3 separate regions of the Homo sapiens genome follow, and all the other regions are linked to region 2. The links are contacts of gene promoters, found by promoter capture Hi-C in blood cells and fetal thymus (Javierre and others, 2016). All regions are on one chromosome and are shown on one strand. The core of a region is centred on a gene start or on the middle of the fragment in contact, and the rest is flanking DNA. Distances in the headings are between cores, read along the strand shown.

The links. Contacts are between HindIII fragments. The CHiCAGO score rates a contact against its expected background, and 5 or more counts as called.
Region 1: the fragment with the promoter of LNP1 here is called in contact with the fragment with the promoter of DCBLD2 in region 2 in 1 of 17 cell types (total B cells); the score reaches 5.2 in total B cells.
Region 3: a fragment that was not itself captured here is called in contact with the fragment with the promoter of DCBLD2 in region 2 in 1 of 17 cell types (monocytes); the score reaches 5.7 in monocytes.

What each region holds. Positions count from the first base shown.
Region 1 is chr3:100,399,390-100,403,155 of GRCh38, reverse strand. It overlaps LNP1 (leukemia NUP98 fusion partner 1), which reads right to left and starts at 1,617. Exons shown (of 4, transcript NM_001085451.2): 1 at 717-1,617. It overlaps TOMM70 (translocase of outer mitochondrial membrane 70), which reads left to right and starts at 2,067. Exons shown (of 12, transcript NM_014820.5): 1 at 2,067-2,530. The coding sequence starts at 2,207. RefSeq lists silencers at 1,599-1,678, 2,289-2,368 and enhancers at 1,739-1,828, 1,839-1,888, 1,939-2,048, 2,730-3,649. The HindIII fragment of the contact is 4,606 bases long and covers 1-3,766 here.
Region 2 is chr3:98,899,474-98,903,297 of GRCh38, reverse strand. DCBLD2 (discoidin, CUB and LCCL domain containing 2) reads left to right here and starts at 1,603. Exons shown (of 16, transcript NM_080927.4): 1 at 1,603-2,176. The coding sequence starts at 1,972. It overlaps LOC105374002 (a long non-coding RNA gene), which reads right to left and starts at 1,284. Exons shown (of 2, transcript NR_189121.1): 1 at 781-1,284. RefSeq lists silencers at 1,285-1,334, 1,475-2,164 and enhancers at 1,272-1,987, 1,988-2,704. The HindIII fragment of the contact is 5,361 bases long and covers 1-3,824 here.
Region 3 is chr3:97,816,563-97,820,285 of GRCh38, reverse strand. LOC101929298 (a long non-coding RNA gene) reads left to right here. Exons shown (of 3, transcript XR_427389.3): 2 at 1,783-1,882. Among named protein-coding and RNA genes, the nearest start is that of CRYBG3, 3.6 kb to the left of the region's middle. The HindIII fragment of the contact is 819 bases long and covers 1,189-2,007 here.

The sequences.
Region 1 (3,766 bases), core at 368-2,867, 1.5 Mb before region 2:
TTTCACAGATTAGAAAAACATGCATCAGATCAGTAAGGTCCCAAAGCCAGTAAGCGACACTCTATTTGGCTCTACAGTACCATCAATTAGGAAATGGAGGAGAAAATGAGAGAATAGCATAGGCTAGAGAATGGAAATGAGATGTTTATCAAAGTATAAAAGTAACCAGAACAGATTCGTTTACTAATGCCAACCTTAAAAATAAAGCCAAACAAAATCAGGCCTTTAGATAAATATTAATCCAAAAAATGTTTCAAGAAAATAACACCGATTCCCTTTGGAGAGGGGAACTGTGCAGCTGAGGACAGGGACTGAAGGAAGACTTTTCACAGTAAACTCTGTAACTTTTGGAGTTTAACCGTAACAGTGTATTGCTTACTCCAATAAATAAGAAAAAGGTTTAAAAAAAAAACTTCAAATATGTTTTAGTTCCTATCAAGTTTGTAATTGTTAGCACTCTACAATCCTCCAAGAGGCCACAGCAAAACTGAAATTTCAGAAAAAAAAAAAAATCCTAACTTGTGTTCTGAAAAAGGCAAGGCAGAGCTTATATTAAGGGGCAGAAAATTTGCCTTTGGGGATTGGGGGATCAGGAGGGGAGAAAAGCCTATTGCCTGCAACGATCAACTCAATTCCACTGCTATTTTTAGCCCATTTTTTTAGTCTGTTGCTAAGAAACCCTATTGCCTGAAGGCAATTTACTAATAGGAACTTACATGAAGCAGGAGAAACCGGTGATCCTGAAATTCTTTCCAATTAGGCCATTCTATTTTAATCAGTCCATTCTGGTGCCACTTGATAAAATATCTCCTTTCAATCTTTATGTAGCTCTACTGTGATGTTGTTGCACTTAACAGCAAAACAATCATTTATGAAATCTTAATGTAAGGCTTCTGCAAACCAGTATACCAGAAATGGAGAACCATAGTTCTGGACTCTGATTTTTCTATTAATAGTTGTCTTCATGAAAATACCGTGTATTCCAAACAATACCTTGCAAGGTAATTTTATATTTTAAGAGATCTGGTGCAGAGCATCGGAAAAAGAGTTGATAAAGCTATTATAGATAAAAAGCTGTGAACTGAAATTACGATTTGGGAATGAGACGAGAAGAGGGCTGAGACTGCTACTGCAAAACAACCCGGGGGGCGTGCGGATCAGAGCGAGATGTGGGCTGACGCAGAAATCAGCTCAAGATACAAATACGCCAAGAAAGGCTCGAAGCCGGCGGGAACCCTGACGCTTCGCATTTCTACCAACTCAGTTTAAGAAACCCCTAACAACGCAGATGTCATCGCTTCGTTAATTGGTGCCGACGATGAGCCACAGCGACCACGCTCAAACCGTTTCGACTGCAGCCAACCTAGATGTGCCATTTCCACCTAGTCTTCTGCCATCGCTATCTCCCCTATAACCTCAAATTCGTCCAAACTAAAATCTCGCTATGTTAGTGATAAGAAGTTCAGTGATGCAGCAGCCTTCTTCAGCGGTGAGCTCTTTCCTCACACATCTTTAAAAGTCCTTCTAATCCGTTGGTTTCTCGGGCACGCGGGCAGAAAACCGTGCTAACGGCCACAGAGGTTCAAGAGGTGCCAACGTGGCTATAACTGGAAAACTGGATCCGAAATCGACCAGTAAACTGGGTAGCTCGGTCTACGCCCCGCCCACCACCCTTGCTAGCCAATAGCCTTCACAACTCTTCTGCCACTCCCGCCCATTCCAGTGCTGTGCCGCTGCTTTTTCTTCCACTCGGATCTCTTGAGCGCCCTTAGCCCGCTGTATACGCGCCCCTCCTCGGCTTCAGTAGGCAAGAGGGCCATCTGCCCTTCTTTCCTGAAGGTAGAGGGGACAACACCAGCTACGACGGGGACTCCAGAAGTCCATCTCCCGAACAGCAGCGGGGCGAAAAGAAAGAAAAAGGGTTTCCGAAGACTCCTACTCACACCCACGCTTTCCCTTAACCCGGAAGTGATTTCCGCCCCTCCTCTCCCTCTTCGGTTGATACTGGAGGAGAAGGACGGCCAGGTCTGGCCCGGCATGCCCTGGGCTTCCGGTGACCTCTGGCCCTTTTCTGTCGTCCGCTCTCTCTGCCTAGCGTGCTCGCTCGCTCATTGCTTTCCTTCCCTCCCTCGGTCTTCCTTCGCACGCTGTTTGGTGATTGTGGCGCTCGCGACAGACAGGGAGGCGGTGGCAGAGGACACTTGTCATGGCCGCCTCTAAACCTGTGGAGGCAGCGGTGGTCGCAGCCGCTGTACCGAGCTCCGGGAGTGGGGTGGGCGGCGGCGGGACTGCGGGCCCGGGCACGGGGGGGCTGCCGCGATGGCAGCTGGCTCTGGCGGTCGGGGCACCCCTGCTGCTGGGCGCGGGTGCCATATACCTGTGGAGTCGGCAGCAACGGCGCCGGGAGGCCAGAGGCCGGGGCGACGCCAGCGGCCTGAAGCGCAACAGCGAACGGAAGACCCCGGAGGGCAGGGCCAGTCCGGCCCCGGGCAGCGGACACCCTGAAGGTCCCGGTGCTCACTTGGACATGGTGAGAAGCAGCCCCAGGCCGTAGAGGAGGAAACTGGCTCGTGCAGCTTTTCCTTGGCGGGTTGTGTCAGTGAGGGGGCTTCCCATCAGACGGAAGCTGCCAAGCGGCAGCACAACACTTGGGTTTAGGGAGACTCATTTCTGGCTGCCAGTGGAGGGCATAGAGTAGCTCGATGACAGGTTACTGGCATTCTTTGACAGTTTGCTTTTGGTTTCAGAAAAATCCTTTGCTTTTCTTCTCAGTGACACAGCATTTATCCCTAGTGTTGTAGATGGGAGTGGGGCATTTGCAAATGTGATGATTGTATTTAATAAGTGAAGGAAGCTAAATTCGATTAACAATTGGTACATCGTGATACGAACTGTTTCTGTGATTTCCAAAGCCTACAACCTAATCGCTAAGAGCCTTTTAATAATGAGCCACTCCCCCTTTTGGAGTGTGTTTTTGCTGGGGGTAAGTGGGCAACTACAGTGACGGTTAGTTGACAAAAGCAAAACAAAAACAAAAACGATTAGATGGCTTTCTACATAGAAAAAGAAAGACTACACAGGTTCTAAAGAGTGAAATGGTGTTCAGTGGCATTTGTTTTACAGCCTCTGAACTGTAAGCAGAACTGTCAAGCTCCCAAGGCTCGTCCTCTCTCAGCAACCCCGAAGCCCCCTTGGCTGCAAGCACTCAGCGCCCGTAACCTCTCCTGCCATGCCCCAGCCCCAAGGTGTCCTTTTGCACTCCGGACCCCTTGGCCTTTGTCAGAAAACGCTCTGCACTGCACTGTCCCCTCTTGCTGCACAAGAGTAGCGGCCACAGCAATGCTCACCAGGCTTGGTTGCACACAGCCCCCTGCCCCAGGTCCAGGCCTACACACACATACAAAAAAAAAAAAAAAAAAAATGGGAGTGACTTCTTAAACTTTTTGATTGGAAGCATCTTAAATTCAGTTTTTCCATTTCACCTGGAAATGTACATGACCAAGCCTAATATGCATGATACAGTTTCTCTGATGTGAGGCCAAGCATTGGATTATTTAGTGAACTGCTTTGTATGGTTTTGGTGAACTGACTGTTAAATCCTTTTGGTATCTGACAGCTGTGCAGAGAATTAGTCTGGCTGCATTTGACAATACTGGGATTGGGTGTGGTGGATTTTCTCTGGGTCTGGAGTTGTTCAATGGTAGTACCAGAGTAAGTCGAGGTCAGAGAAACGTTTGGTCAAATATCTCCCAGTTTTATACATAAG
Region 2 (3,824 bases), core at 354-2,853:
TCACCTTTTTCACTTTAGTTTCTTATTCAAGACACTGGCATTTCAAACTGACGGGTTTTTTTGAACTCCGTTCACTGTGGTATTGTGGCACCAGTCCACACCTCTAACAGGGCACTAATAACAATAGGTTTGTTTACATGTCACCTCCTCCTCCAGAATGTAAGTTCTTCTCAGTAAACTTTTTATGCCCAATGCCCACAATGGCTTAGAGCATAATAGGGTTTCTTAGGCATTTAATAAATGTTAATTGAATAAATTTGGTTAAAGAGATTATTGTATAAGAAATATGCAGGGGAGTTGAAACATACGACCTCCAAAGTCCTTTCCAACTTAGACTTTCATTGAAGGATATCAGTCCCTTCCATGTTTTTGAATATCACATCTATGTATGACTATGTATACATATGTATATGTATACATGTATGGCTATGTATGACTCCCAGAGCCATAATTTCAAAGCTCTCAATCTGAGCTTTCGACTAAAATATCCATCTGCCTGTTACATAGCTTCACTTATTATCTAAGTTGGCATCTCAAATTCAATACGTCCAAAATTAACTTACTTTCCCACACAACTTGTTCCACCTTAGCAGTTTTTTGTATTTGCTAATGACACCATTGTCCTTTCAGGGACTGCTGTTAAAAACATCCTACATGGCCACTCTCTTCTAAAATAAATCACTGCGTAGACCTCTGCATTCCTCTTTCCTAAAATTCTTTTTGTCGTTCCATAGGCTTACAGTCTCCATCAAACTGCTTGTGACTCTAATTAGCACTTACTTCATTCTGACTTGCATGCTATATTTCCATCTCTGTTCCACATTTCAAGATTTCTGTAGATAGACAGCAGGTGCTCAACAACTCCTTGTAGAATGGCTGCATGAAGGTTGGGATGTTAGGTTTAAATTGCCTTTGCGGCACGGATCTTGTTTTACACTTTTTTGTCCCCCACCCCCCGCCATAAAAAGAGCAGAGAAAACAGGGAACACATATATTAAAAACTGAACACTGCATCTATTATTCTAACTCGGAGCTGTTGCAACAACTGGCGGCAGTTTTAACAAAACAAGCCACGCTCTGCCATTAAAAAAAAAAAAAAAGTCCCTTAGACTCAGCTCCCAGCTAAAACAACCCAGGATCCAGGTTTCCCACCCCCTTCCAGTGGTCTGATGTGCGTCGGAGGAGCGAGGAGAAAGGAGCAAGGAGCAAGCTGGGCCTGAGGAGCAGGGAGCGCGGGATGGGGGACGTCCCGGAAGTCACTGACGAGCTGGCTGCCGCCTCTGCGGGATCAGTTTGGGCTGAGGGCCCAACAATAACAGGCGCCCGGGCCGGGCGGGGGCCGCGGGGATCCGAAGCTGGAGGGCGGGACCTGGATTGGAGGAGGCGGGTGGGACGCCTCCAAAGGCCGAAGGGGATTGGAAGAGGGAGGTAAGGGGCGGTGGAGCTCGAGGAATGGGCCGGAGAACTAGCGGGTCGAGCGAGGAGCGAGCATGCTGATTGGGTTTCGCGGAAGGAGACGGACCAGAGCTGGCCGAGGATTGGCCGCGGTGCCTAGGGGGCGTGGCCGGCGCGCGCGAGAGGGAGCGCGAGGGAGCTGGCTGCGGGCCTGCCTGCCAGCTAGCCGGAGCCGCGGGTGAGCGCGGCGAGCGGCGACCCTGGTGAGGAGCGCGGCGCGGGAGGCACGTTCCTTAGCTCCGCCGCGGCCGTCCTCCGCGGCTCGAGGACTCCGCTTCCTTCCCTCCCCTCCCCTGCGCTCCGGCCTGGGGTCTCGGCGCGGGGAGCGGAGGGAAGGGACGAAGGAGGAGTAGGTGAAAGCGGGGTGAGGGGCGGAAGGGTCCCGGCGCGGGGTGAGGCGAGGGCTGCCTCTTGTTCTCCCGCCGCTGCCGCCGTCTCCTGGTCGGGTGCCGCGGCCAGAGGCGCGCGGGGCTGCCGAGGCACCCGCACTATGCAGGCAGACTGCCGGCCGCCGCGATGGCGAGCCGGGCGGTGGTGAGAGCCAGGCGCTGCCCGCAGTGTCCCCAAGTCCGGGCCGCGGCCGCCGCCCCCGCCTGGGCCGCGCTCCCCCTCTCCCGCTCCCTCCCTCCCTGCTCCAACTCCTCCTCCTTCTCCATGCCTCTGTTCCTCCTGCTCTTACTTGTCCTGCTCCTGCTGCTCGAGGACGCTGGAGCCCAGCAAGGTGAGTGGTCCCAGGGGAGTGAGCGGCGGGGGAACCTCCGTCGGGGCTGCGGGTCTCTTGGCCCCTGAACAAATCTGCAGACGCTGCAGGGAGGCGCGGTGCGCTTTCGTGCGTGGCCGGACCTGGCTGGGTACTCACGGGGTTGAGTTGCAAAGGCAAGGTCTTGCCCGTCTGTCCCCCAAGTTGGCGCGGCTTTACTTTTTGGCAAGGCCATTTATTTTTCTGAAAGGGGGACGTGAGACCCTGCTATGAAAGCCTCGTTGATATTAGGTCCTTCTGGGGAAAATTTTGGGGAGGAAAAAGAACCTTTGGAGGTAATGACCCCTAAAGTTAAGCTGCACGGATGGATGGACACTGTAGGAAGGCAGGTTAATTAAATAGCATCTTAAGCCTATTAAAGGTAAGTGGTGGTAATTATGATCCTTTGTGAAAGAGCCCGGGTTCTGAAGCGAATGGAATAGTTTCTGCTTATCTCTGAGTCTTGGATTCAGAACATGTTCTTTACAATCCATCATTGAGGCTGGTGGTCTAGACTGCCTTGGTCAAACACTGGGTCTGACCCAACGCTATGCTAATTTGCCCAAGTGAAGCTCTCCACATTAAAAAGGTAAGCCTTTCCAGAAAGTGACAAAACTTTTTTTTTTTTCCACCTACAATCCTTGAAAAACCTGTTCCAGAAACAGGCAAAACTGTTTATTAAATACTTATCATAATGGAAGGAGAATGCAGGGTGATTTCTTTTCCCCTTTAGTACTGTTTTCCCGTAGTGTACCACACTTTTTGAATCAGTTTGGCATCAGTTTTTGAAAAGATATTTCCATTGCATTTTCCATTTTATTGCAGTGGGAAGGATAAGGATTGGATTGTTACTTATTGCTAGGAAGAGAGTTTTTTAAAAAGAAAATTGTTCTCTGCCTTTAAGCCCAGCTTTATGTTGCTCTCATGGTTTTCAGTGAAGTATGGAATCATGGCCTGTCATTAAGAAGATGCCGAACCTTGACAGGCATGTGGAAATATAATCTCTGTAACTATAAGGAAAAAATGTATTTGGCAAACTGACCCCTTACATCTAGACACGTTTCTATATAGAGTAACTCAAAATTTAGATGCTTAGCATTTAGGTTTTAGTTAGATCGTCTTCTAAAATTACTGAACATCATCATCATTTAATATATTAAAGTGTGAAATCCTTCTTTCCACTGTAGAGATGTATTTCCCTCCTGGTAGGGGGGAAAACAGGCTTATATATGGCTAACACTTAGGGCTTACTTTGTGGCTGGAACAACTGGACTAAGTGGTTTGGGTTTATTAACTCCTTGAATCTTCACTACAATCAGCTGAGATAGTTATTGTTATCCCAGTTCAAACGTAAGGACATTGAGACACAAAGAATATAAGGTACCTTGATGCAGGAGGGCATATTACTCCATAGGCAGAGTACTCTGCTTTGCTTGTTTCTGGATCTGATAGTGTTTGTATCATGTTATTAAAAAAAATCTTGGAACAGTATAGAATCAGTTACATGTCTACCTTCCAAATGAGGGATTGCCTTGTTTTTAGAAAAGGCCAGTCTACCGGGCGCGGTGGCTCACACCTGTAATCCGAGCACTTTGGGAGGCTGAGGCGGGCAGATCACGAGGTCAGGAGA
Region 3 (3,723 bases), core at 349-2,848, 1.1 Mb after region 2:
GACCATTGAATTTTCCTTCATTTGCTTTCTGAGCACTTATTAGTTTTCTATATGTCCTACATTGTTATAACCTGAACTCATATGAACAAATTTCTAAATACTAAATTCTAAGATTGCATTAGGAAGCCTGTAAAAATGTCAAATTTTAGAGCTGTAAGGATCTTAGAGATACTAATTTAGCACAGTGTCATTAATTCACTGATCCAGTTATTCCCCGACGTTTAGTGAGTGCCTGCAGTAGAAGCACATCTACAGTGAAGCCGATGAGGCTCAAGTTTCTTGGCTCCCTGCTGGCACAGTCTCTTCCAGTGTGAACTCAGCAATGGGATCCATGGCCAGTTTTATCAAATTTACAAAAGTAAATGTTTTAATGTGATTAAGACCACAATCTCTTTTTTTTTCCACTTAGATGTCCACTTAGATTTTCTTTTCCACTTAGAGTTATCAAGAGCATTTGGGAATCTGCTAGGGAATTTCAGTTGGGAATATATTTAGTTTGGACTTAGTGGAATATATTTATGTGGTTTCCAGCCTCTCCAAAGTATAGTTATTTCTTAAATTCCAATTTGTTTGTAGCGCAGCTCACCAAGTATTACACCCAAGATGCAGAGCCAGAGGAGATATATTCTGTGGTCTCTGACACTGAAAATATGTGGGTAATAGAGGTGAGACAAGATTTGAAAGGTAAAGCAGCATCAGGTGTCATGTGGAAAATTATTCCAGGCATCAGAAGACAAAGTTTCAACAGGAAGGATTGCCTCCGATTGATGTAATTTCTCTCATAGCAATAATATATTCAATAATGCAGTATATTTAATTTTTTTTTTGAGACAGAGTCTGGCGCTGTCACCTTGGCTGGGGTGCAGTGGTGCAATTTCAACTCACTGAAACCTCCGCCTCCTGGGTTCAAGCAATTCTCCTGTCTCAGCCTCCAGAGTGGCTGGGACTACAGGCGCCCACCACCATGCCCAGCTAATTTTTGTATTTTCAGTAGAGACGGGGTTTGACCATATTGGTCAGGCTGGTCTCGAACTCCTGACCTCAGGTAATCCACCCGTCTCAGCCACCCAAAATAATTTTTATAACTGTAAACACAAAACATTTTTTCTTGTTGATGTAAACCATGTAAAATAGAATTTATCAGAATTCTTGTTTGTAGGGTACAAACCTGTAGCAGTACCACAAGCTTTGTGTGTGTGTGTGTAGTACTGCATGTTTACACAGCCTTTCTATCAATAAGAAAAACAGAACTAGAGGAAAGATTGCATTATCTTTTCATTATTATGGAAAATAATATTACTAAATTATTGTCATATGAAAGGCTATTGAAGAGTACACTGCCAAAAATATAGGAAAAAAAGTGATTGTGCAAGGCATTTAGTAAGAAAACAAATTGTTTTTCTAGTCAACCTTTTAAAATTAGTAATTTGCATGGTTTATGTTTTCATTCAATATATTCATTTTTATATCTAATTTTCTTTTAAATCCTTTTTCTTTAAAGAGGACCCTCCAAATTGTAAAAACTTCAGATCCCACAAAACCTGGATATGTCCTCTAGTGCATACTATGTGTCAGATACATGCTCATTCTTAGACATAGAGATACGGTGATAGATAAGACCAAATGCTTAACATCAAGGAGCAAGTTTAATTGGGCAAGATGAGCAAATGGGGTAAGATGGGAAACATAGGACGGATCCCCAACTTAATCTGAAGGGTTCCTGGAAGGCTCACTAGAGGAGATAACTGTTAATATGCTCTCTTCTTCTCTGCCTCCTTTTAGCACCTGATTTCCACCTATAATACTGTAATTCAATAACTTGTGTGATATATGAGAAATCCTGAAGTTCATCACACTGTAACTGAATTGCCATTCCCACAACGTAAGTACCATTCTCAAAGGTATGAGAATAGAATGAAAGTGTTGATCCTTGAAGCATTTAAACTGCAAGAGTAGTTTAGTAATGCTAAGCGTTTTTGTTCTGAAAAGTCCACCAGGGAATAAGCTTCTGTATATATCTTAGAGCACAGTATTTACTGTGTGGCAGGTGGCCCAGGAATATTAAGACAGCTGTCAACATCAAGGAAAGCACCAGCCCATGAAAAAGCAAGCAGATGGATTGGGGCACTTCACTAGCTGCCTCCTAGAATAATAGCTGTGCGTGGCCAAATGAGGCAGTGTCATGCGGCCCAGGGCAGCAAAAAGCTATTACTGAATATAAGCACTCAATTAGGAGGTGGGGTGGGGGGAATATCTTCTCTTTTCCTTTGTTTATATGCTCAAATTTTCATTAAGAACTCCCACAGCAAATAAAAAAGGGGAAAAATGATGTTAGCATTTCTCATTGTTACTTTCTAATTATCATGGTTTGTAACATGGGGAAATGCCTGTCTTGCTGCTTCAATGAGAACAGATGGTAAAATTTTTAAGTAATTGGTTATTCCAACTTCTATGAGATGCATGATGTTTTATTGTATTGTTTGTCTGGTTTTTGTTTGCGGAACATGTGGAGATTGAGATCTTTCGAACACACATCTTTTAATGCTTAAATTAAGTAAAATGTGTTAGTCTGACCTAAACTACATTTACACTTTTCTCCCTTTGATATGATGATACTTCAAAGAGAAATTAGTCCTTTACAAAAATATAACATTAACATTAAAAATTAAATATATAGCTTTCAAACAGCACAAAATTTGCTAATATTGAAACGTACTTTTAAAAATGTATAAATAGGGGTAGCATGTCTTTGACAAACACTGATTATAACATGTGTTCCAAAATAGTTGTTCACACCAATTCAGTGTGATGTGTCTTTTATCTAAGTCAAATGCTATCTAAAATATAAGGTCATATGTAAGATATTAAGTTTTATTAATGGAGCTTCATAAGCATGACGTAGATAATGGCTCAGAATAATAATTTACTATTAGATGAGAAATTCATCCTCTATATTGTTTTCCCAAAATATTTCATCTGACTTCATAAACTCTGCACTGTAATATGCACTTCTGATATACAATTTTAAAAGTATTCCATAAAGAATGATTATTTATAAATTTCTAGACTGCATTATATTACTGTTAGTTGTAAGTTTTGTTTCTTAGGGCTTTATGAAACAAAGCTTTGGAGCAAAACAAACAAAACAGAAAAAGTGGCTGTGAACTGGTTTCCTTTTTATCTTATTGTGACGTTTTATAGTATACATGTCCCAGAAGCTAGAGCTTTCTTACTATGGGTACTTTGTTCTCAGTTTGATTTCTTGCAAATGGTTTAAAAACAAGGCATAGTGGCAGCTGCTTTTGTGAGCAAATGTTTTGATTAGGGAGAGAAAGCAGCTGGAAATGCTACATGCTGTCATATAAAATGAACCAGTTTTCACATGGGAACTTTACCTAATCTAAAATTGAGATTAACGTAATTTCCTGTACATGAATTTTCTTTGCATAGAATAAAATAGAAATCTATTCACTTTGATTACAATTTGGAGTGATGAAATGATGAACATAGTGCTGAATATAAACTTGACATGTCTATGGAAATCTTACTCCATTCTGAAAGAAAGTATCATTAACAAACTTCCAGAAAAATTTATTTAAAAATATTGCTAAAGGTAGTAGCAAAAAAAAATCCATATGGAGCTTATAAAACCAAATGTTACTATAGATGACATAATTTTTTACTTCTTAAAAATGGGGCAAGTACATTTCTTAATGACCCCAC